Regions from separate parts of the Homo sapiens genome. Here all the other regions are linked to region 1. Evidence: promoter capture Hi-C in human tissues and cell types (Jung and others, 2019). All regions are on one chromosome and are shown on one strand. Each heading gives the region's core, a stretch centred on a gene start or on the middle of the fragment in contact. The rest is flanking DNA. Distances are from core to core; before and after follow the strand shown. Region 1 holds the start of APOBEC1 (apolipoprotein B mRNA editing enzyme catalytic subunit 1). Region 2 overlaps PEX5 (peroxisomal biogenesis factor 5). Region 3 has its middle 11 kb from the start of CLEC4A. Region 4 has its middle 43 kb from the start of PEX5. Region 5 has its middle 52 kb from the start of ACSM4. Region 6 has its middle 6.2 kb from the start of ACSM4.

Region 1 (4,276 bases), core at 1,034-3,533:
CGTGGCTCCCTTTGAGCCAGCAAGCAGAATTCTGCTCTCATCCTCATATCTCCATTTCGCATCCTGACTCTGACTCTTCTACCTCCCTCTTATAAGGACCCTGTGATTAGACTGTGCCCACCTGCATAATCCAGGATTGTCTTCTCATCTCAAGATTTTTAATTAACGACAAAGACCCTTTTGGCACTTAAGTTCATATGTTTAACAGATTCCAGGGATCAGGACATGGATATCGTTGATGGCTATTATCTTACCTTTTTTTTTTTTTCTTTTTTTTTTTAGACGTAGTCTCACTCTGTTGCCCAGGCTGCAGTGCAATGGTGAGATCTCGGCTAACTGCAAACTTCCCTCCTGGGTTCGAGCAATTCTCATGCCTCAGCCTTCCGAGAAGCTGGGATTACAGTCACCTGCCACCACACCCAGCTGACTTTTATATTTTTAGGAGACTGGGTTTTGCCATGTTGGCCAGGGTGGTCTTGAACTCCTGACCTCAGGTGATCCTCCCATCTCTGCCTCTCATAGTGCTGGGATTACAGGCGCGAGCCACTGCGCCTGGCCTAACCTACTTTTATTCTACAATGATTCTACTCTTACCTAACTTAGAAAAACTTGGTCTCTGAAGGGCCTTTATTGATGATGTGGGATTTCTGCCCCTTCTTCAAAACACTGGTCTGCCCCTGTCGAAACACCTGCTTTATCTCATGGAGGCTCCAGGTTGACTTTCATAACTAAGTAAAGTCTTGTATGTAGGATTCGGGTTTCAGGTTCATGGGGCCTTGAGATTCAAAGTTCAGGAGTTCTAGATTTGAGACACTAGAGGGAGACTTAGGCCTTGAAAAAGTGACCTCAATTCTAGGAGTAAGTGCTGAGACTCAGAGGAATTTTTGGCTTGAACTTGACCCAGGGTTCAGGCAACAGAGAGCAATGGCATAGGGAAGTATGGCATTTACTTTTTCAAGGGGGATAAAAAAGCAGAAGTGGCTGGGAGAGGTGGCTCACGCCTGTAATCCTAGCATTTTGGGAAGCTGAGGCGGGTGGATCACCTGAGGTCAGGAGTTTGAGACCAGCCTGGCCAACATGGAGAAACCCTGTCTCTACTAAAAATATAAAAATTAGCCTGGTGTGGTGGTGGGTGCCTGTAATCCCTGCTACTTGGGAGGCTGAGGCAGGAGAATCACTTGAACCTGGGAGGCAGAGGTTGCAGTGAGCCGAGATCGCGCCATTGCACTTCAGCCTGGGTGACAAGAGCGAAACTCTGTCTCAAAAAAAAAAAAAAAGGGCAGAAGTGGACTTGGCCACACACTTAATCTTAGATTCAAGGATGAAGAGAGCACCAAAGACCTGTACACAAATTAGCTGACTCAGAGGCCAAGGTCCTTCTCATTTTGTATCTAATAGCTCCCCTCCCCTCTCCAACACGGATGTAGGACAGAGAGCAAAATGAGAGGAAGTTGGAAATAGGTGAATAACAGCTGAAAGCCAAGGCCACAGTGTGCTCACCAGATAACATAAAAATTTTCAAGCTATAGTTACAGATTAAGTCTCTCTTAACTTTATTTTTCCTCTCATCTCTCCATTAAAGAATGATGCATCCTAGGCTAGGCACGGTGGCTCATGCCTGTAATCCCAGCACTTTGGGAGGACGAGGCGGGTGGATCACCTGAGGTCAAGAGTTCAAAAACAGCCTGACCAACATGGTGAAACCCCGTCTCTACTAAAAATACAAAAAATTAGCCGGGCGTGGTGTTGGGCGCCTGTAATCCCAGCTACTCGGGAGGCTGAGGCAGGGGAATCGCTTGAACCTGGGAGGCAGAGGTTGCAGTGAGCCAAGATTGTGCCATTGCACTCCAGCCTGGGCGACAAGAGCAAAACTCCGTCTCAAAGAAAAAAAAAAAGAATGATGCATCCTTGATGCAGAGTAGGAGATAATGAAAAATAAATAAATAAAACAAAACAAAACAAAAAAGAATGATGGATCCACCTTGCCTTAATCTTTATTTAAAGAAAGAGAAAGTTTACCAAATTCAGATGTCATTGAAGAACTTTGGAATTTGGTACCCAGTGATCCACCCTACAAAATTCATGTCATTTGCATCATAGGCTTTCTCATCACTAAAGATGCAAATCCCCACGATAATGTCCCTCTCAGTCGGCCCCCTGTTTGTACAGACAGCTCAGATTCCCATAACTGCCTGAGATGCGGGAATGAGTCATCCTCTGCCCAAGCAGGTGGCAGTGGGCACACCTGAAGCAACAAAGTCCAGGAACAATCAGCACAACTTATGACTCCAGAGGAGGAAGTCCAGAGACAGAGCACCATGACTTCTGAGAAAGGTAAAATGGATCCGGGGGCTTGGCAAGTATTCTTGAACAATGCAAGAATGGTGTGTGTGTGTGTGTGTGTGTGTGTGTGTGTGTGTGTGTGTGTGTGTGTGTGTCCTGCTGATTCTTGCATCTGTGGGTGTTTTCAAACTTCCCTATTATTGATTAATATATTAGTCTTAAATAAGATGGTTTATTATTAGTAAATATTTACATCTCCAAGTGACTTTAACCAAATCAGTGTTTGTTTCACCATGATAAAAAATTAAGTAGCCAGGCGCTGTGGCTCACACCTGTAATCCCAGCACTTTGGGAGTCCAAGGAGGGTGGATCACTTGAGGCCCAGGGTTTGAGACCAGCCTGGCCAACATGGTGAAACCCTATCTGTACTAAAAATACAAAAATTAGCCAGGCATGGTGGCGCATGCCTGTAGTCCCAGCTACTCGGGAGGCTGAGGCAGGAGGATCACTTGAACACAGGAGGCGGAGGTTGCAGTGACCTGAGATCACGCCACTGCACTCCAGCCTGGGCAACAGAGCAAGACTCTGTCTCACAAAAATAAAAAAAAAGTTAAGTAAAAGTACAACTGTTTAAATAACAGTTTAAGGTAACAACAGACGTGATAGCATGAGAACAATGTGCTAATTGACAAATGAATTGACTATAACTAATTGATAAATTTGTGCACAGTCAGTGTTAGAAAAATGCATGGGAGAGGAAGAACACTTCAGGCTGAAGGAAGTAATTTCAGCTGAGCTAGGATTTGAGCTGGATTCTAAGAGAAGTGTAGACCTAAAAAAATTTTTATCTTATTTTGTTTTTAGAGACTAGCGGGTGGGTTCACTACTTCGCCCAGGCTGGTCTGGAACTCCTGGGCTCAAGCAATTCTCCACCCTTGGTCTCTCAAAGTACTAGGAATACAGGCATGAGCCACCATGCCTAACCAAATTTTTTTTTTTTTTTTTTTAAGACTCGCCCTGTTGCCTAGGCTGGAGTACAGTGGTGTGATCACTGCTCACTGCTGTCTTGACCTCCTGGGCTCAAGAGATCCTCCCGCCTCACCTTCCTGGGTAGCTGGGACAACAGGCATGGGCCACCAGCCCTGCTAATTTTTTTGTAGAGATGAGGTCTTGCTTTATTGCTCAGGCTGGTCTTGAACTCCTGGGCTCAAGTGATCCACTAGCCTCGGCCTCCCAAAGTACTGGGATTACAGGTGTAAGCCACCATGCCAGGCCAGAAGGGCAGACTTTGGATCGACAAAGAAGAGGAGATTCCAGGTTGATTGAATCCTATTGATGAACAGAATTTAAAAGCTTTTATAGAGACTTGTGTCTGGAATATAATGAATAAACTGGTTAGGCTACAAAAAATTTATGTAAACAATTTGCAGTAAGACCAGAAAGCAAATTTGAAGTGTTATTATACTATAGAGGACTTCGAATGCCAGGCTCAAGGAATGAAAGTTTTTCTTTATGGTAGAGGGAATATCTTTGGAGAATTTATGAATAGCACAGAGATATGACTAAAATAGTGCTTTAGACACATTTACTTGACATGTGATGGGTTTTGGACTGGAAGCAAGGAGACCAGTTAGAAGACTATTGCAATAGTGTGAGTGTGATGGGGCAGAAGGTAATATAGATATCAGTTTGGAGTTGAAGTAACAATTTATTTTCTCCTTTATGTTCTTCATCTGTTAGAATTCTTTTTTAAGGTCAGGTGTGATGGCTCACACCTGTAATCCCAGCACTTTGGGAGGTCAAGGCAGGCGGATCACCTGAGGTAGGGAGTTTGAGACCAGCCTGACCAACATGGAGAAACAACGTCTCTATTAAAAATACAAAATTAGCTGGGCACGGTAGCACATGCCTGTAATCCCGCTACTTGGGAGGCCAAGGCAGGAGAATCACTTGAACCAGGGAGGCGGAGGTTGCAGTGAGCCGAGATCGCGCC
Region 2 (4,276 bases), core at 899-3,398, 460 kb after region 1:
TCCTTCACCCCGGGGGCCCCGGCTTTTCCTCTGCATGTTCAGGGCCTCCAGAAAGTGCTCCACAGCCTCCCTGTAAGGAAGAAGAGGAATGAGAGCTGTTAAGCTGAACAACAATGGAAGGAAGCAGGTCAGCTAGCAGTGGGAGGGAGAAAGCTAGGGCTGGTTAGTCAAACAGGATCTAAGAATAAGGAGCTAGGGCCAAAGGCAGGGAGAAAAAGCTCATTCATTCATTTCTCAATAGATACTCTCACCGGTGAGCCCCGAGGTTGATGCAGCTGATGCCCAGGTTATAGCGGGACCGGATATAGCCAGGCTGGAGCTCGAGGGCCCGGCGGTACGCAGCTACTGCTTCTTCACTCTGGTTTCCATTGGCCAGGGTGGCGCCTAGCTTATTCCACAGCAAATAGTCCTGGGATAGGGATGCAGAACGGATGGGAACAGCTTGACTCAGCTCAAACTCTGCACATTACTCCACCGACTCAGCTCAAACTCTGCACATTACTCCAGCTGTTTCACTACTCTGTTAGCTAACATGTTTCGTCCCATTCCATTCTCAACAGTTCGGTGTGTGGCTACAATGTAGCCCCTCTCACCCTATGCAGACTCTCTTATGTCCAGATGACCCTACACTCCCAGCCTTCTTTTCCCAGTCCTCCCAAGGCAGTCAGTACATGGAACACTGGAATGAAATACCCCAAGACTCCAAAAGTCTGAACAAATTATTCTTTTTTGTGGGGGTGGGCAGGGTCTTGCTATGTTGCCCAGGCTGGATTTGAACTCCCAGGCTCAAGTGATCCTCCCACTTCAGCCTCCCAAGTAGCTGGGACTACAGGCATGCACCATCAAACCCAGCTTCCCAACAAATGGCTCTTCAATAAGGTACACAGTCATGTCCCATTTCCATTCCTCCCCTGGGCTCACATTGGGACGAACGCTGAGGGCAGCTGTGAAGCAGTCCACGGCCTTGTCATACTCCCCACTCAGGTTGAAAAGGACTCCCAAGCCACACTGCACATCAGGGTCAATGGAGGTAGGGTCCAGCCGCACAGCTGCCAGGAAGAGCTCTTTCACTTCAAGAAACAGGGAGCTGGATGAAAAGGAAAAAAACACAAAGTAGGTAGATGAATGTCTCTATTCCCATCCCCCCAAATTAATTTCTTCATTGATCAACCATATCCCCAACATTCATCAATCTATCAGTCATCTCTTCTACTCTCAAAGTCCAATATAGAAGCCTGTTTTTCTATTTCATCCTAGCACTGAACTGTAGAATGCAGACCTCCTTCAACTTGATCCTAGGTTTCCCATCCCATTCTCAGGACCCTTCAGTCTCAATCCATCCAAACTTCCAAAACCAAGGTCACCCTCCTACTGGGACTTAGGTTACTGTAATTCCTCATCCTAGGAACCCCTCATACTCACTCAGACAAGAGAGATCCCAGGATACGCTTGCTGGGGCCCAGTCCTGCCCCACCAGCCCCTTCTTCAGCAGGTGTCACCAGATGGGCATAGGCTGGTGTGTACCGCAGCCAGTCTCGTAGGGTTTCACAGGCCTGTCGCTGCAGGGACTCGTTGGTGAAGCTCACAGCCAGCGCCATCAGTGCTGTCTGGTTATCTGGCTTTAGCTCCAGACACCTGTTTGATCAGGGATGGGCAGACTTGATATCTGCAATGACTGACACTGGCACATGTGAGCACCCTGGGATCCAAGCCAAGCTTTGAAATGCAGAGTCACAATGGCCTCACCTGTGACTCCTCTGACATGAGTTAATAATAAAGTTACAGATCTAAGGGGAAGGTTTTAGCAGGCAAGGAGCCAACCAAAGCCGCAAATAAAATCAAAAGCCGATGAAGGAATGGAATTCACTCCAACCCTCAGAGTTTCAGCATGAGAAAACACTCTTGATAGCACTCAGAAAGAAGACAAGGATCCAGGTCTGGGCTTCTGTCATTCAAAAGGTTATATGCAGAGCCTTGGAAGCACCTCACCCACACCTTTCAGTGTACTCACCTCCGCAATGCACTGATGGCTAATAGTTCTTGTTCATTCTCTGCCTGGGTGGTACCCAGATACTGCCAAGCCTAGAGGGAAGTTGACAGATTCCATCACCCCATATTCACCTCTCCATTCGCCCTTCCCCCTGGCTTCTCCCACTCACCATCTCGCTCTCAAGCCCCTATCCTAGGCCATCACCCAGGCCCTAACCCATCTGCACTACTCTCCTTGGGGCCTTTCTCAAGATGGAGGAAGCAGTCTCTAGCCAGAAATGAGACTATGGAGTCACTCACTTCCATGTGCTTAGGATCCTGCTGCACAGCTGCCTCAAAAAGCAGCACAGCATTTGGCAGGTCCCCCTCCTGAAGGCGCCGCAGCCCTTCTTCAAAAGGCTGAGGGTGATCACGCAAGGGGTTCTCCTCCTCAAACTGGTACCCCTACAAGAAAAGCACGTGAGAGATGGACTGAGAGGTGGCACCGTCAGAACAGCAGGGATGTGAGGATGACAACCAGCAGGCAGAGAAGCTGAGGGCCTCCAAACAGGTTCCGGAATTAATTGCTGGCAAATTCTCCATATTATAAAGATCATGTATGACACAAGTAAAATCATTTGGTATCAGGTTTGTGCTCCCATCTCCTGTTCATGATACCTGGGAAGCTAGGAAAGTCTACAAATTCATCTGCGCTGGAAATAAGCTTATTTTAGGAAGTCATCACAGGCTTGTATTCCCACACCTTGACTTCTCACCACGGGGCAGAATGTCTCAACAGGATCTGCTTATAGTAATGAGACAAAGTGTCCCTAGCTATGCAAAGTGCATTTCTTGTTATCCTTCAATAATGTGATGATGTATAAAGGAAATGTTGTTTGGAGTCCTGCTATTCAAATATAACTCTTACTTAGCTCAGAGTCATTCCACATGTCAACTAGATAAAACATTTTCAAGCATTTTGAAAATGTTAATTTATTCCCCGATTTCATTCTTAATAATCATGAATATTAATCTGTATCTGACAGTAAGCAAAAGCTGGATCCCAAAATCCAGATGGCAGAGAATACTTCAGAAAGACACCATTCTCTTCCAGCTGAGGATTTCTCACTTTAGAGAAGAGTTACGATACTATCTGCAAAGCTTTGTCAACTGGCATTTTACACTAGGCAGAGAAGAAATGAGGTAAAGGGGAAGTCACTAGTAAGCTGCAAAATCTGGGACATGCAAATAAAAAGTCCGTTTTTGGAGAGTAGTTACCATCATAAAATAATACACCAGAACGAAAACAAGATGCAAAACAACAGGTGGAGGTCTTTCTAAATGCAGTTAAGAATAAATTCAGATAAAACTGTACAAAATAAAGACATGAGGCCCTTTTTCATTATTATTGTGAAAATGATAAAGAATCAAAAACACTTAAATCTTACCAGCAAAATTCTAAGTCATGATCAGATGCAAATTATTTGTCACAAATGAAAATTAAATAATTACAATGGGGGGTTTAAGAAGAAAGACATATTATAGTAGATTTGAGATAAATGTATAGAAAGTATATTTATATTGAAAACAAGTGTGTTTTTGGACATCTCTGCATAATATAAAAACTAAGAAGGCAGAAAATGACGCTAGTCCAGTGATCAGCAAACTTTTTCTGCGAAGGGCCAGATAATAAATATTTCAGGCTTCGTGGATCTGCTGCAACTACTCACCTCTACTGTTGTAGTGCGAAAGCAGCCAGACATAAGTAAACAAATGAGCACGGCTGTCTTCCAATAACATTTTATTTATGGACACTAAAATTTGAATTTTATATAATTTTCACTTGTCACAAAGTATTACTCTTTTGATTTTCTCCAACCATTTAAAAATGTTAAAACCATCCTCAGCTAGTGGATCACTAAAAACATAAAGATTTATCCCACAAGCCAGTGTGCTGGCCCTTGCCCTAGACTATTACAGTTCAATAAAATAAATCCTTCTGCATTCAACCTCAACTATTGTTCATCATTAATACGTGTTTTAAGCCACTCTACAGAAAACAGAGATTACTGTCATCTATAATGCAGTTTCCTAATAAAAGTAATTCCTGCCTCTCAGAGCCATTGAGAACATCAAATGGGAATCTTCACCAACGCCTTACCAAAAAGCTTAAGATACTATCTGTAAATAGCTATTATCCTCACTGCTCTAGATACTTCCTTAAGATATGATGGCCTGTATATGACAGCCAGAAGTGATGCGAATGCTCTTCAGGTGTCTTCATTAGATAATACAACAACTCAATGCC
Region 3 (4,276 bases), core at 454-2,953, 450 kb before region 1:
AAGGCAATATATTTCACATTTGGGTGTTCAAACATATTTGCCAGAAAATCGAAAAGCTTCCAGGATTTGGTGACATACTGAAAAGGCTGTTCAGGTGGTCCAGGCCACAGGTAGACAGACAGTCTGCACTTAGCCCTAATAAACTAGCGGTGCTTGAACCCTCTTTGGCAAATCCATGCAGATTGGAGCCTAAAGCAAACCAACCTGGAGATTGGTAGGAGAATTCAAAGGAGGCCAGTAGGATAGTTCAGAGGAAATCATTCCCTCTCAGCGAGTAATTGGTCTATTCTTGAGAAATGCTATTGGGTCCTCAGTGAATCAGAATATAGCAACATGGGACAACAGGTAAAGATGCAACTTGAGGTAACCTTCATGAGCTGAGAGTCATCTAACTGGAGTAGAAAATCATTAGATGCAGTAATGGCTAAGGGTTTGGATTTAAATACACAAAAAAATGAGGAAACAAAGCCTTGGACAAGCACTAAGCAGGGAGCTGGAATTGAGACTTCCATATAATTCATAATTTTTGCAAAACTGTAAATTAAGCAAAAGGTAAACTAGAAAGAGTTCAGCAGTAATACCTCTCCCTGGGCTTTGGGTGAAAAAAGAAAAATTCGTAGGAAAGTACAAGGTGAGTCTACAATATTTTGTTCCATCAGAAATAAAGGAATTGGCCGGGCGCGGTGGCTCACGCCTGTAATCCCAGCACTTTGGGAGGCTGAGGCGGGTGGATCACGAGGTCAGGAGATTGAGACCATCCTGGCTAACACGGTGAAACCCCGTCTCTACTAAAACTACAAAAAATTAGCCGGGCGTGGTGGCGGGCGCCTGTGGTCCCAGCTACTCGGGAGGCTGAGGCAGGAGAATGGCGTGAACCCGGGAGGCAGAGCTTGCAGTGAGCCGAGATCACGCCACTGCACTCCAGCCTGGGCGACAGAGCAAGACTCCATCTCAGAAAAAAAAAAGAAATAAAGGAATTGCTCAAACATTAATGCAAGTACGTCAAAAAGCAACAAATTAGCTTGAAGGCTACTAGCCAATTTTAGGGCAATTTGAGCACCGTATGGACTCCTCTTTTGTAGGTATCATATCTTCACCTTTTACTTCAGCTCTTGCTACAGAAACCAGCCTCGGGCAAGTGCAACCTGATAACACCTTGCCTCAGCCAACCATGAATCTCTTGCTTTCCGTCCCAGGGATCCTCTGACATTACAAGTACGAATGCCCCCTGTACAGAACAAACCTGAAACTGTGCAGGTGCCAACACACCATGAGGAAACCCTGATCCAATGATGGAAGGAAGCTAGTGGATAAATTGTCCCCTCTTTTATCACTTGGGGACACAATTTTAAGGTGCATTCTACACAGCTCCTCAGAGCTCCAGAAGAATGGAGTCTCAGTTGCCCAAAGCAGTAACCAACTTAATAATGCACCCTTGTATTAGCTTTCCCTCTTCCCCATTTAACTCTTCTAGTCTCTCATTCCTGTTAGGCAATAAGAACCTGGGTAGGGGGTGAGACGACAATAAGATCCAAGAAGAGAGAAATCTGAAAGGTGAGCAGATTGCTACAACTGCTTTATTCTGAGGTTTGCTAATTCTGAGCATGGGCAGGAGGCTGAGAATCTGGTCTTTGTACCTGCAGATGGCTGCTGCTAAGGGACAAAAAAGCCATTGGAGCTTTTGGTAGAGCTTTAAGGAGACTTCAAGTACATTGCTAATTTCTCCCTAGAACGTTTTCTGAATTTAAAGACTGTACAACTCAACACTAAAACAAAAACCAATCACCTAAGCAGAAAGCCAAATTTGTCAAAATGTCAACAATTGTTAAATATGGACAATGGACCAACAACGACAGACTGGATTAAGAAAATGTGGCACATATACACCATGGAATACTATGCAGCCATAAAAAATGATGAGTTCATGTCCTTTGTAGGGACATGGATGAAACTGGTAACCATCATTCTCAGCAAACTATCGCAAGGACAAAAAACCAAACACCGCATGTTCTCACTCACAGGTGGGAATTGAACAATGATAACACATGGACACAGAAAGGGGAACATCACACACTGGGGACTGTTGTGGGGTGGGGGGAGGGGGGAGGGATAGCATTAGGAGATATACCTAATGTAAATGACGAGTTAATGGGTGCAGCACACCAACATGTCACATGTATACATATGTAACAAACCTGCACGTTGTGCACATGTACCCTAAAACTTAAAGTATAATAATAAAATAAAAAAAAATGGACAATGGATATATGGTTATTAACTGTATTATTCATTCAACTTCTTTTGAAAATATTCATGATAAAAAGTGGAAGGGAAAATCCCAGGCCTCTGTGTATGTAAGTTTGGAGTACCAACTTATATTATCTATGATATATGTAATTTTGGAGTACAAACTTATATGACTTAGGATATAAAGGAGACTCTGAGCCAGGAATTTAACTTAAAATTAGGTCTCAATCTGATAATAACCCTGAGGACTTAGAAAAGGCAAATGCAAAACCACTCCAAAGAAATACTCCCACAACTGAGGTAGAACAGGATTGCCCATAAGGAAAACACACTAAAGACAAACTCACAACTAAAACTTAAACACATGACAACACATGAAAAAAAAAGATAGTAAATAAATATATGAAAAGAGCACAATCTCACTGTAGTAAGAGAAATGAATATATTTTTCACCCAATATATTAACTAAATATTTTAAAAATAAACTGTTGACAAAATAGAGAAACAAACAGCCTCAGAATTTATATTAAGTATATGAATTAGGCAGAAGATAATATAGAAATAAATCTATCAAAATTTTAAATGTTGGGGGAGGGAGGAAGGGAGACAAGGGTTGACACATTACTGGATACTATGCTCACTACCTGAGTGATGGGATCAGTCATATCCCAAACTTCAGCATCACGCAATATACCCACGTAGGCCAGGTGCGGTAGCTCATGCCTGTAATCCCAGCACTTTGGGAGGCCAAGCTGGGCGGATCACCTGAGGTCAAGAGTTTGAGACCAGCCTGACCAACATGGAGAAACCCCATCGCTACTAAAAATACAAAATTAGACGGGCATGGTGGTGCATGCCTGTAATCCCAGCTACTCAGGAGGCTGAGGCAGGAGAATTGCTTGAACCCAGGAGGCGGAGACTGAGGTGAGCAGAGATTGCACCATTGCACTCCAGCCTGGGCAACAAGAGCAAAGCTCTGTCTAAAAAAAATAAATAAATAAAATACACACACACACACACACACACACACACACACACACACACATATACACACTCACATAACAAACCTGCACATGTACCCCCTGAGTCTAAAAAAAAAAGTTGAAGTTTTTTAAATTTTAATTAATCGCATTTCACCCACCAAGTCCATTTCTGGGGAATCTATCCTTTAAATTTTTCATTTAAGTATATATTATATGTAAAAGATGTTCAGTGTAAAATTTAGTGTCAAAAATGTCAGAAATGTTACTATCAACAAGGACAGTGGTTAAATATATTACGGTACATCCATACTTTAGAGAACCTGAATAGCTCTAAACATAAACTAAACATAAGCAAATACAAATGCATAGGCAAAGAAAGAACTTCAGAACATTATTAATTTTTTAAAAAATAATATAAACAATTTACATGTAATTTTTATTTTATTAAAGGATCTTTGCATAGGCAGATACACACAGAGAGAGAATGCTTTAAAAAATGTCTAGAAGGCCAGGTGCAGTGGCTCACACCTGTAATCCCAGCACTTTGGGAGGCTGAGGCAGGTGGACCATCTGAGGTCAGGAGTTCAAGGCCAGCCTGGCCAACATGGTGAAACCCTGTGTCCACTAAAAATACAAAAATTAGCCGGAGGTGGTGGTGCACGCCTGTAATCCCAGCTATTTGGCAGGCTGAGGCAGGAGAATTGCTTGAACCTGGGAGGCAGAGGTTGCAGTGAGCTGAGATCAGCCACTGCACTCCAGTGTGGGCAACAGAGCCAGAGTCTGTCTCAAAAAAAAAAAAAAAAAAAAGATGTTGGGCCAGGCGCGGTGGCTCACACCTGTAATCCCAGCCCTTTGGGAGGCTGAGGCAGTGGATCACAAGGTCAGGAGATAGAGACCATCCTGGCTAACACAGTGAAACCCCATCTATACTAAAAATACAAAAAATTAGCCAGGCATGGTGGTGGGCACCTGTAGTCCCAGCTACTCGGGAGGCTGAGGCAGGAGAATGGTGTGAACCTGGGAGACGGAGCTTGTAGTGAGCGGAG
Region 4 (4,276 bases), core at 490-2,989, 430 kb after region 1:
CACTTTCTGGATCTATGAGTTAAACTTTTTTTTTTTTTAAGACAGAATCTTGCTCTGTCACCCAAGCTGGAGTGCAGTGGCGCAATCTCGACTCACTGCAACCTCCGCCTCCCAGGTTCAAGCGATTCTCCTGCCTCAGCCCCCCAAGTAGCTGGAATTACAGTCGTGTGCCACCACGCCAAGCTAATTTTTGTATTTTTAGAGATCTGGAGTTTTACCATGTTGGTCAGTCTGGTCCCAAACACCTGGCCTCAAGTGATCCAAACGTTGGCCGGCCAAACTGCTGGGATTACAGGTGTGAGCCACCTCACCCGGCCAAAATTGTTTTCTTAATTTCCTTTTTGGACAATTTATTGTAGTGTATAGAAACACAACTGATTTTGGTACATCGATATTGTATCCTGAAACTTTGTTAAATTTGTTTATCCTAAGTTTTTTTGGTAAATCTTTAGAATTTTCTATATATCATATATAGAAATATAATTTTCTGCACATCTATAAGATCATGTAATCTGCAAACAGAGATAATTTTACTTCTTCCTTTCTGATTTGAATACTTTTTATTTTCTTTTCTTGTCTACTTACTCTGGCTAGGACTTCTAATTCTATGTTGGATAGAAGTGGTGAGAATGTACATCATTTCCTTGTTCCAGATCTGAGAGAAAACGCTTTCAGTTTGTGACCGTTGAGTATGATGTTAGCTGTGTGCTTTTTATATATGGCCTTTATTTTGTCAAGGTAAATTCCTTCTATACCTAATTTGTTGAGAGTTGTTATCATCAAAGGGTGTTGAATCTTGTGGAATGCTTTTGCTGTATCTTTTGAGATTATCAAGTCATCTTTGTCCCTCATTCTGGTAGAAAGCATGTGTGAAGCCATTTGGGTCTGGGCTTTTCTTTGTTGGAAGGCTTTTTGTTTTTTGTTTTTTGGGGTTTTGTTTGTTTGTTTGTTTTTTGAGATGGAGTCTTGCTCTGTCACCCAGGCTGCAGTGCAGTGGCACAATCTCACTCACTGCAACCTCCACCTCCCGGGTTCAAGCGATCCTCCTGCCTCAGCCAGCCAAGTAGCTGGAATTACAGGTGCGTGCCATCACACCCAGCTAATTTTTGTATTTTTAGTAGACACAGGGTTTCACCATGTTGGCCAGGCTGGTCTCAAACTCCTGACCTCAAACGATCCACCAGCCTTGGCCTGCCAAATGCTGGGATTACAGGCGTGAGCCACCACACCCGCTGGAAGGTTTTTGATTACTAATTTAATCTCCTTATTTGTTATTGGTCTGTTCAGACTTTTTAATTCTTCATAATTCAGTCTTGGTAGGTTGTATGCTTTCAGGACTTTATTTTCTCTAAGTTGTCCATTTTGTTGACGTATAATTATTCTAGGGATTCTTCACATTTCTGTGGCAGGAGTTGCAGTGTCTCCTCTTTCACTCCTGATTTTCTTTCTTTGAGTATTTTTCTCTTTTACTTTTCATAGTTATAGGGTTTGTTGATTTTGTGGAAAGAGTTTTTTCTAAGAAAATCCTAAAGAACATTTTATTTTTTATTTTTTGTTCATACTTTAGTATGCAATGAACATTTTAATTTTTTCTTATTTTTTGAGAGGAAAATTATATGCTCATTTTATTCATGACTCTAAATGCAAAGGTTCAAACAAACAAAAATTAAGAAATTTTACCCAAGAAAATAAAATCAGGAAAGAAATGCAATGCAAATTTAACATTTGAAAATATTTTTAAATTAACTCTAACAGGTTAGTCGAGAAAAACTATTTTATCTTTTCAACAGAATCGGAAAACTCATTTAATATAATGTAATACCTATTCATGATTATTGGAAAAAACAAACATATAAACCGCAACAAATTAGGCTAACTTCCACACTCTGTTAAATAATATATAGTAAAAATGGATATGCAAACAAAAAACAAACAATAGAACTCTACAATAAACATCTTTAAAAAATTGGGTCAATTTCGGAATGATACAATAGTTAAAGTAAATACTAATGTTTGTCTCATTCAGGTTGAGAACTTACTATTTCCTTTTGACCAATGTATAAAAAAAGGCAAGATACACATGAAGGCAAAGGACTATCTTAAAATGAATAATGGTAATTTTATAACTGCTGCTAATTTGAGCCTGCTTTTATGTAATAAAATGCTAGACACTAACATTTGCCTTACCATCTTAGTATTGCTACCTATGCCTGTACTGTGAATTCAGCAACACCATTCCCAAATACACTACAGTGTTTATAATCAACACCTGAGCAGCTGACCAGCGGCTAAGACTTCCCACTTTAGTGTATTTTTAGTTCAAGTACAGAACCCTTATTATGGTACATTCAAAATAGTTGTCTTTATTTTGCTCATATCTTTCTAATAGCAAATATGTTTTTCTTTACTTTCTCCATGTTTGAAACTTGAACTACATTAAAGGGATATTCTGCAAAATTGTCAGCATCTCTTTCCCTCATTCCTGTGTCTAGGCTCTTTATTCTAAAAGGACATTGAGGGGAAAATAAAAGCAATAATGTGAGATTACCCTTGGGGTGCATTTAGAGAATGTTGGACTTTCCTTGTTGCCTACCTTTATGTTAGAAATTTAGATAAAAAACCGTAAGAGCTCACTTAATAATAGCTGTCATAATCATTACTATGATCTCCTACCTGGACAATATAAGGTAGCAGAGAGCGTGGCTTCAATTTTATTATTTTGGGAGTGGCACAGAGTAGACCCTATTTAAAGAAATGCAGACAAGTTTTTATCTTCAAAAAGCAATAAATTAATGGATCTAGTCATAATCATCAATGGCTACTATCATCATGAAAAAAATAACCTAACCAGACATTATGTGCCTCCTAAGAGAACAACATTATACAGCCTAAGAAGTAGTCTTGTTAAAAAAAAAAAAAATCAAGCAAGAGTCTGACTAAACCTCTAGATCAATTTACAGGAAATGTAGGGGAACAGAAGAACATGTAAACCACACCATATGTATGCAATTAGCAAAATTCAAGCTGTGAAATATTCAAAAAAACCAACAACTCAGTTCTTGAAAATAACAAATTGCAAGGGAAAAAGAAGGTAATGAGAAAATTCATAGATTAAAAGATACACAAAACACTTATCAACTAACCCAATGTGTGAGCTTAATTGGAACAAATGGTAGCAAGAAAAGATGCATGACTTAGATAATCAATGAAAATGTGAATGGTGGATATTTGATCGTAAGAAGCAATTATTGTTAACTTTTAGGTATAATTGGAGAATATGTTTGTTTTTAGAGTCCTTGTTTTTTAGATATATATACTAAAGCTATTTATGAATAAAATGTAATTTTGGAGATTGGTTAGGAGTAATGAAAAAACAGGATTAGCCATAAGGTAATAATTGTTGAAATGGGGCAGTAGATACATGAGAATTCAATATACAATTTTGTCTATTTTTGTATGTCTTTTGAGATTTTCAATAATAAATGTTTCAAAAATAAGTAATTGTTTTAGGCTGCTGAGAAATACTTCAACACAGCATATAGGGCACTCCAGAGAGGGCACAGATGTCTACCTCGGAAGACATGAGAACTGGATCTTGTATGAGTCAATCATGGGTGTAATGGGATGGGGAAATTTTTATTTATTAGAATTTCACAAAAACCAGGTAAGATGGTCCATCCTGGAGAGCCTGCTTCCTATAAGGGAAGTCATCTCAGTGAGGGAAGTCATCTCAATGAGGGAAGTCATCTCCATCTCAGTGAGGGACTTGACATTTCCCAAGGGGCTGAGTGCTGTGGAAAAATTTAGAGGTGAGACTCCTGGATGGCAAGGCAGAATAATCTGTGAGATGGCAGGGGAGCAGTGCATGACAGGTTTCCTCTCCATAGTGCCCCAATCTACATTAAAGTTACTCTTTTTGTGAATTCACAATTGTGATTTCCTCTGCTGTAGAAAACAGCAAGGGACAAACATCTGTGTACCAACTGGCATGTGGCCAAATGGAGTCAGCACACACAGATGCAGAAAAACAGAGGGAAACTGATCCCATTCACTTTATTTTACAACTCCAGTGACATAGCTTTTGCATTTGCTGGTTTCTCTACCCTCAATGCTCCCTCTACTCACTTCTCTTTTCTACCTTGGCTTAGATGTCACTTCTCCCAGGGTGCTCTCTCTGATTCCCCAGGCCAAGTTAGATGTCCCTTCCACGCATTTCCAGTGTAACCTGTGTTTCTGCTTCATCACGCTTTTTCCACTGTACAATTGCCTATATTAT
Region 5 (4,276 bases), core at 1,264-3,763, 410 kb after region 1:
TTTTAATTGTGATGTTAGGGTGTGAATTTTGGATCTTTCCTGCTTTCTCTTGTGGGCATTTAGTGCTATAAATTTCCCTCTACACACTGCTTTGAATGCATCCCAGAGATTCTGGTATGTTGTGTCTTTGTTCTCGTTGGTTTCAAAGAACATCTTTATTTCTGCCTTCATTTCGTTATGTACCCAGTAGTCATTCAGGAGCAGGTTGTTCAGTTTCCATGTAGTTGAGCGGTGTTGAGTGAGTTTCTTAATCCTGAGTTCTAGTTTGATTGCACTGTGGTCTGAGAGGCAGTTTGTTATAATCTCTGTTCTTTTACATTTGCTGAGGAGTGCTTTACTTCCAAGTATGTGGTCAATTTTGGAATAGGTGTGGTGTGGTGCTGAAAAAAATGTATATTCTTTTGATTTGGGGTGGAGAGTTCTGTAGATGTCTATTAGTTCTGCTTGGTGCAGGGCTGAGTTCAATTCCTGGGTATCCTTGTTAACTTTCTGTCTCGTCGATCTGTCTAATGTTGACAGAGGAGTGTTAAAGTCTCCCATTATTATTGTGTGGGAGTCTAAGTCTCTTTGTAGGTCACTCAGCACTTGCTTTATGAATCTGGGTGCTCCTGTATTGGGTGCATATATATTTAGGATAGTTAGCTCTTCTTGTTGAATTGATCCCTTTACCATTATGTAATGGCCTTCTTTGTCTCTTTTGATCTTTGTTGGTTTAAAGTCTGTTTTATCAGAGACTAGGATTGCAACCCCTGCCTTTTTTTGTTTTCCATTTGCTTGGTAGATCTTCCTCCATCCTTTTATTTTTGAGCCTATGTGTGTCTCTGCACATGAGATGGGTCTCCTGAATACAGCACACTGATGGGTCTTGACTCTTTATCCAATTTGCCAGTCTGTGTCTTTTAATTGGAGCATTTAGTCCATTACATTTAAAGTTAATATTGTTATGTGTGAATTTGATCCTGTCATGATGATTTAGCTGGTTATTTTGCTCGTTAGTTGATGCAGTTTCTTCCTAGTCTCGATGGTCTTTACATTTTGGCATGATTTTGCAGCGGCTGGTACCGGTTGTTCCTTTCCATGTTTAGTGCTTCCTTCAGGAGCTCTTTTAGGGCAGGCCTGGTAGTGACAAAATCTCTCAGCATTTGCTTGTCTGTAAAGTATTTTATTTCTCCTTTACTTATGAAGCTTAGTTTGGCTGGATATGAAATTCTGGGTTGAAAATTCTTTTCTTTAAGAATGTTGAATATTGGCCCCCACTCTCTTCTGGCTTGTAGAGTTTCTGCCGAGAGATCCACTGTTAGTCTGATGGGCTTCCCTTTGAGGGTAACCTGACCTTTCTCTCTGGTTGCCCTTAACATTTTTTCCTTCATTTCAACTTTGGTGAATCTGACAGTTATGTGTCTTGGAGTTGCTCTTCTCGAGGAGTATCTTTGTGGTGTTCTCTGTATTTCCTGAATCTGAATGTTGGCCTGCCTTGCTAGATTGGGGAAGTTCTCCTGGATAATATCCTGCAGAGTGTTTTCCAACTTGGTTCCATTCTCCCTGTCACTTTCAGGTACACCAATCAGACACAGATTTGGTCTTTTCACATAGTCCCATATTTCTTGGAGGCTTTGTTCATTTCTTTTTATTCTTTTTTCTCTAAACTTCCCATCTCACTTCATTTCATTCATTTCATCTTCCATCACTGATACCCTTTCTTCCAGTTGATCACATCAGCTCCTGAGGCTTCTGCATTCTTCACGTAGTTCTCGAGCCTTGGCTTTCAGCTCCATCAGCTCCTTTAAGCACCCTTCTGTATTGTTTATTCTAGTTATACATTCGTCTAAATTTTTTTCAAAGTTTTCCACTTCTTTGCCTTTGGTTTGAATTTCCTCCTGTAGCTCGGAGTAGTTTGGTCGTCTGAAGCCTTCTTCTCTCAACTTGTCAAAGTCATTCTCCGTCCAGCTTTGTTCCATTGCTGGTGAGGAACTGCGTTCCTTTGGAGGAGGAGAGGCACTCTGCTTTTTAGAGTTTCCAGTTTTTCTGCTCTGTGGTTTTATCTACTTTTGGTCTTTGATGATGGTGATGTACGGATGGGTTTTTGGTGTGGATGTCCTTTCTGTTTGTTAGTTTTCCTTCTAACAGACAGAACCCTCAGCTGCAGGTCTGTTGGAGTTTGCTAGCGGTCCACTCCAGACCCTGTTTGCCTGTGTATCAGCAGCGGTGTCTGCAGAACCACAGATTTTCGTGATCCGTGAATGCTGCTATCTGATCGTTCCTCTGGAAGTTTTGTCTCAGAGGAGTACCCGGCCATGTGAGGTGTCAGTCTGCCCCTACTGGAGGGTGCCTCCCAGTTAGGCTGCTGGGGATCAAGGTTCAGGGACCCACTTGAGGTGGCAATCTGCCCGTTCTCAGATCTCCCACTGCGTGCTGGGAGAACCACTACCCTCCTCAAAGCTGTCAGACAGGGACATTTAAGTCTGCAGAGGTTACTGCTGTCTTTTTGTTTGTCTGTGCCCTGCCCCCAGAGGTGGAGCCTACAGAGGCAGGCAGGCCTCCTTGAGCTGTGGTGGGCTCCACCCAGTTCGAGCTTCCCGGCTGCTTTGTTTACCTAAGCGAGCCTGGGCAATGGTGGGCGCCCCTCCCCCAGCCTCGCTGCCACCTTGCAGTTTGATCTCAGACTGCTGTGCTAGCAATCAGCGAGAGTCTGTGGGCGTAGGACCCTCCAAGCCAGGTGCGGGATATAATCTTGTGGGCGCCGTTTTTTAAGCTGGTCGGAAAAGCGCAGTATTCGGGTGGGAGTGGCTGGATTTTCCAGGTGCCGTCTGTCACCCCTTTCCTTGACCAGGAAAGGGAACTCCCTGACCCCTTGCGATTCCCAGTGAGGCAAAGCCTCACCCTGCTTTGGCTGGCACACGGTGTGCTGCACCCACTGTCCTGCCCCCACTGTCTGGCACTCCCTAGTGAGATGAACCCGGTACCTCAGATGGAAATGCAGAAATCACCCGTCTTCTGCGTCACTCACGCTGGGAGCTGTAGACCGGAGCTGTTCCTATTCGGCCATCTTGGCTCCTCCATGGTGCCTTGATTATTCTTTTTGATACAGAAATTGTCTCAAATTTGGCCAGTGAGAGCTCTCTCAAGTTGACTTTTGTGTCCTTTTGACATGTCATTATCATTTTTTGATCACTTGTTTACTTTCTGATGCAAAAAGAAGTCCCAAGTTCGCCCGGTATTTTTTGTACTCCACCTGTGGATATATCATTTTTACCAAGGAGCCCCTTATATCAAGAATGATGTTTAGAAATCAAGATTTAGGCTCCAGAAGCAATGGCATCTTACTATTAGATGCCACTGATTCCAGGACTTCTAGTACACACAACTAGGAAATACAATTTTTAAAAAATTATGAGTTCATAGTAATATTTCCAAATAAAATTTAATTTTAATATTTTATTTTTAAATTTTATTTTTTTAATATTTAAGGAGCATTTATTTTTTCCTGTGAACTGTCCATTCATGTATTTTGCCTGTTTTCCTACCAGATTTGGCCTTTTTCTTCTTTAAGAACTCCTTACATATTAGGGATATTAACTCTTTGTCTGTTAAGTAAACTGCAAATATTTTTTCACCCAGTTTTGTATTTGTAATATCTGGCCCAGGTTCAGCTGCCTGGAGCTAACTTTTGAAAAAGGGCTCCTTATTCATAGGCAAAACTACAAGGAGAGGAATGAAACTCCTGTTTTCCAGGTGTCAGGCACTGTTCTGAGTGCTTAGTGAACATTCTTTTCTTGTACCTGGTGGCAAATCTTTGAACATTATTCCTTATCTAAATCCCACATGGCTAAAATGTTTTAGAAGTCAGAATTTTTCAGTTTTTGGAAAGGTCATATGGTACTTAGAACCATCTCTACTCCCCTAGCAAGGCCTGGGGCAGCATACTGAAATCATATACGTAAATATTTCTGTAGTGAAATGTGTGAATATTCCCATTAATTAAGATAAATAAAGACTATAGTTAGTTTCACCTCATCTCAGATCAGGTTTTGCTGCCAAATTAGATATGAAAAACATTTTTGATTATCAGAGCTTTTCAGATTTTGGAATCGTGGATAAGAGATAGTAGGCTTCTATCTATTATCCTTGCTTTACAAGCAAGGAAAGGAATTTTTATTTTTTATTCTTATTTTTATTTTTATTTTTTTGAGATGGAATCTCACTCTGTCGCCCAGGCTGGAGTGCAGTGGCACGATTTTGACTCACTGCAAGCTCCACCTCCCAGGTTCATGCCATT
Region 6 (4,276 bases), core at 745-3,244, 370 kb after region 1:
GGTCTCAAGCTCCTGAGCTCAAGCAGTCCTCCCACCTCAGCCTCCCAAAGTGCTGGGATTACAGGCGTGAGCCAGTGCCCCCGGCCAACGTGCCTTTTCTCTTACTACTGTGGTACTTTCCCAACTTCTCATTTACTAGAGTCACCTCCATGTTACCAGATGCATTGTTTCCTTACCAGAGAATGGTATTATTGATCCAGAAAGGCCGTTAACTCCTTCACAGAGACTCAGTTCTGTATCTGCCAGAAAGTCAGTTCCTTTCTTCTTTTCTTTTGGAAGCATCTATGCCATGGTAGCCCTAAGTCTCTGGTGTGCAGGTGGAAGGATCATAATCCTCTGGGAGGAGAGTTTTTGTTTCTCTGGACAACCTGTGGTTAAGGTGACAGCAGCTTATAAGACACAGCTGGGAGGAGAGAAAGGCAGTGCAGGGGCAACCTCCTCTCATAGGTCAGTGCCAAACAATGGCTAAGCCCCAGTGCATTAACAGATTATTTTCATTTATAGAGCTGAAGATAAAGAGATCTACCCTGGTGCAGTGGTCTTTATCAGAGCCTCTCAACATTGTTGTCGGGCAGCCCAAGACATTGGCATGCTTGATTATTGTGATATAACTGGATCTGGCCTGGCAAACCTACCAAAGTAGTATAACCAAAAAGCATATCAGAACCCTCAACTCACTGATTAATGAAGATTATGAGAAAACCTCCAAACTCCTGGCTTTTATTGAGCATCTACTGTGTGCCTGGCTGCTCCTGGATATCTGTTCTGATGCTATCTCATTTGGAAATTATCTTAAGACAATGTTGCTGAAGGGTTTGAACATAAACATTGCCTGTCTATGCCCTTGTGGATGTTAGTTGCTGGCAACAGGAATTGGGTTTCACAAAGTTTATGCCCAAATGTTGCTTGTTGGTGACAGTGATGGTGGCAGTGGTCAGACAGTGGCATTTTTCACTTTAAGAGTTCATTGGTAGCCCGTATAACACCCAAAGGACAGTATCTCTTATGGGCTTATATATGAAGAGAGCTTCCTGGTCTTTTAACAAATGAAGGCTAAGCCCAGGGTGCCAGACTGAATAGACGCTCTCCCTGCTAAAGATATCTACATACTAAACTTTAGAACCTGTGACTACGTTTCTTTAAATAGGAAAAAGGACATTACAGATTTGATTACCTTAAGGACCTTGAAATAGGGTGATTATCCTAGAACATCTGAGTGGGTCTAATAGAATCACAAGGGTCTTTATAAGAGAAAGGCAGGAAGGTTAGTCAGTGAAGGTGACATGATGACTCTGCTGCTGATTTGAAGGTGCAGGGAAAGGCCACCAGCCAAGGTATGCAGATGACTTCTAGACGTTTGAAAAGGCAAGGAAATACATTCTCTTCTTGGGGCTTCAGAATAAATACAAGCTTGCTGGCACCTTGATTTTAGCTTAGTGAAACCGATGGCAGGATCCTGACCTTCAGAACTGTAAGATGATAAACTCATGTGGTTTTAAGCGATTAAGTTTGTGGTAATTTATTACAGCAGCAATAGAAAACTAATACCCTCAGAGACTGTACACATCCTGACCACTGCTGGATGTCTGCCATGCACACAGTAGAAGCTCAACAGCTATTAAAGTAATGGCCTGTTTAAAAGTAGGTATTCCCTCTTCCCAGGTATGAAACCTGCAGACTGTTAGATTGTTGAGGCTGGATGAGTCTTTGAAAGTACACAGACCAATCTTTTCATTTTACTAATAAGAAGGCCCCAAGAGGAGAGGTGATTTGATGGGATACACAGCAGGTTGCTGGCGGAACTGGAACCCAGGTCTTTTGACTCCAGATCTGTGGAAGGAAAACAAAAACTTGGGACCTCAATTCATTATGCCAAAAGGAAAAAAATTAAGCTGAAGGCTGAGTCATACAAGAAGCTGACTTTCTTTTTCTTCCTACTGATAAAATGTTACCTATCTGCATAGGCAGCTACTTAGGTAAAGTGCCGATTTACTGAGCATGAGATGAATATATAATTGACTATTCACCTACCTGCTCCTTTTCTCTTGCAACATGTGGATTCTGTAATGTGACCATACCCTCTCCTTTCCCCCTCCAGCCTGCTTTTCCCCTTTAAATATTGAAGCCCTCAAAATTATCTTTGGACAAAGGCACAGACCACAGACTGTTTCTGTGATTCTGTGCTTTTTTTCTCCTAGGCATTGCCCTTAACCTTGGCAAAATAAACTTCTAAATTGATTGAGACCTGTCTCAGATATTTTTTGGTTTACAAATTGGCAACCAGTGGAAGGGAATCTAAGTGGAGGTGATCCTAACCGACAAATGTCCTATTGGTGCTTGGTACCAGCTTGAACGATCTTTATTGCTCAAACTAATAGGACAATCTGCTCAGGTCTAGGGAGCTCCCCACTGCAGAAAATCGATGATCTCCCAAAATTTGGTTGATATCTAAGGTTTCTTTGGCTGTACAACTCCTTTTCTGGGGTTTTACTCACTTCCAACAAGGCAGGTGAGTTTTCCTGCTTCCGTAATGATGGAAAGCAGGTGATTCTTTTCAGGAGTTTCAGCTCACTTCCAACAGGGAAGGCAAGTTTAAGGTTTTTTCCTGCGTTTAAAATGGCGGAGGGCAATCTTCAGCCTGGGCCCCATTCCTAGGTAAGTAGCCGAATTGGGATTTTGTCTTGGAAATTCTCCTGAATTACTAAAAGTTAAGATTAACACCCAGCCGGTCTGAATTTCTCCTTACCATTAGAGCGCTCAGTAATTGTATAAATTGACCAGTTGTTTGTTTGTTTGCTTAAGTGTTTTTTTGTTTGTTTCTGGGTTTGTTGTTTTTGGTGGTGGTGGTTGTTTTTGTTGTTTTGGTCTTTTTCCCATTGGGTTTGACCAACTGGTAGATTTCCTTTGGTCGAATTTGAAGGAAAGTTCCAAATTATGGGGAACAATGCCTCTGAATTGGCTAAATTCCCACAGCTGAACAACAACAAAAGAGACGAAAGAAGAAAACACAGCCAGCAAAAGGGGAAAAAAAAAAAAAGAAAAGAAAATTTTTGACTACCTGAGGGTCTTTATTTACAAAACAAGGCCACCTTTTGCTAGCCCGCCAAACTGAGAGAGCAATAGTGGTCACCCCATGCTGTGGTTCAGTAGCTAAGATTCTGCCCTTTTTTCACCACGGCAGCCTGGTTTTGATTCCTAAATCAAATCCTTTCTGGTTTGATATTTGTGTTACTTTTGAAATACTGGCAGTTCGTCCCAGCTAAAATATGGTAATCAGATTTAAAAGGATTTTTTAAGAGCTCTATGGTTAAAAGTCAGCTTAATTAAAAGCAAATATCCAAGGGGTGTGTGTGTGTGTGTGTGTGTGTGTGTGTGTGTGTGTGTTTGTGTGTATGTGTGGTGTGTATCTTTTATGCTTTTTCTCCTAGAATTTGTTTTTTGAGAAAAAGTTTCTTTTTCTTCTCAGTCAGCTGAATTTTATTTTCTCCATTTGCTTCTGCCTTTCTCTCCTTTCTCTTGCAACCCTCTGCTGCCTGACGGACCTAAAATAATGTCTAACAGCTCAGTATTTCTTAAACAAAACAGAGAAGGCACCAGACCCTTTTTTTGGAGAGAAACCTCTGTTTTTTCTTACAGAACTCCAAGAACGTAAAGTTCTTCTGACATCTTGTACTGCTTGCTTTTGTATTGTGTTTATTTATTTATTTATTTATTTTTGATTAAAATGTTATTACAACAGAGACTATTCTTGGGGGTTTAAGACAAGAAAGGGTATGGTTTAGACACAGAAAAATATCTTTGTAATGCTGATTAAAAGAATCAAACTCTGTAAAATATTTGAAGAGATTTATTCTGTGCCAAATATGAATGACCAATGGCCCATGACACAGCCCTCAGGAGGTCCTGAGAACATATGCCCAAGGTAGTAGGGCCACGGTGTGGTTTTATACATTTTAGGGAGACATAAGACATCAGTCAATACATGTAAGATGTACATTGATTAGGTCCAGAAAGGCAGGATGACTGAAAGCAGGGGGCTTCCAGGTCACAAGTAGATTCAAACATTTTCCAATTGGCAATTGGGTGAAAGAGTTATGTTACTGTTTAAAGACTTAGATGCAATAGAAAGTAATGTCTGGGTTAAGATAAAGGTTGTGGAAAGCAATGTTTTATCATGCAAATGAAGCTTCCAGGTAGCAGGCTTCAGAGAGAATAGATTGCAAATGTTTCTTATCAGACTTGAGTTTGTTCTATCAGTAATTCCAAAAGGGAGTAG

What was found. Contacts are between HindIII fragments. The study calls those that stand out against the background at their distance.
Region 2: a fragment that was not itself captured here is called in contact with the fragment with the promoter of APOBEC1 in region 1 in 2 of the 25 tissues and cell types used here (dorsolateral prefrontal cortex and spleen).
Region 3: a contact is called between a fragment that was not itself captured here and the fragment with the promoter of APOBEC1 in region 1, in 1 of the 25 tissues and cell types used here (hippocampus).
Region 4: a fragment that was not itself captured here is called in contact with the fragment with the promoter of APOBEC1 in region 1 in 2 of the 25 tissues and cell types used here (spleen and stomach).
Region 5: a fragment that was not itself captured here is called in contact with the fragment with the promoter of APOBEC1 in region 1 in 1 of the 25 tissues and cell types used here (spleen).
Region 6: a fragment that was not itself captured here is called in contact with the fragment with the promoter of APOBEC1 in region 1 in 1 of the 25 tissues and cell types used here (H1 embryonic stem cells).

The regions. Positions count from the first base shown.
Region 1 is chr12:7,663,915-7,668,190 of GRCh38, reverse strand. APOBEC1 (apolipoprotein B mRNA editing enzyme catalytic subunit 1) reads left to right here and starts at 2,283. Exons shown (of 5, transcript NM_001644.5): 1 at 2,283-2,334. The coding sequence starts at 2,319. RefSeq lists an enhancer at 1,284-1,578. The HindIII fragment of the contact is 14,417 bases long and covers 1-4,276 here.
Region 2 is chr12:7,205,816-7,210,091 of GRCh38, reverse strand. PEX5 (peroxisomal biogenesis factor 5) reads right to left here. Exons shown (of 16, transcript NM_001351132.2): 11 at 2,290-2,433; 12 at 2,012-2,082; 13 at 1,423-1,635; 14 at 922-1,087; 15 at 252-409; 16 at 1-70. Among named protein-coding and RNA genes, the nearest start is that of PEX5, 18 kb to the right of the region's middle. The HindIII fragment of the contact is 4,293 bases long and covers 2-4,276 here.
Region 3 is chr12:8,110,940-8,115,215 of GRCh38, reverse strand. It overlaps a transcript of CLEC4A not described here. Among named protein-coding and RNA genes, the nearest start is that of CLEC4A, 11 kb to the left of the region's middle. The HindIII fragment of the contact is 5,099 bases long and covers 1-4,252 here.
Region 4 is chr12:7,230,967-7,235,242 of GRCh38, reverse strand. No RefSeq gene overlaps it. Among named protein-coding and RNA genes, the nearest start is that of PEX5, 43 kb to the right of the region's middle. The HindIII fragment of the contact is 7,187 bases long and covers 1-4,276 here.
Region 5 is chr12:7,249,914-7,254,189 of GRCh38, reverse strand. No RefSeq gene overlaps it. Among named protein-coding and RNA genes, the nearest start is that of ACSM4, 52 kb to the left of the region's middle. The HindIII fragment of the contact is 4,546 bases long and covers 241-4,276 here.
Region 6 is chr12:7,295,696-7,299,971 of GRCh38, reverse strand. No RefSeq gene overlaps it. Among named protein-coding and RNA genes, the nearest start is that of ACSM4, 6.2 kb to the left of the region's middle. The HindIII fragment of the contact is 5,413 bases long and covers 1-4,276 here.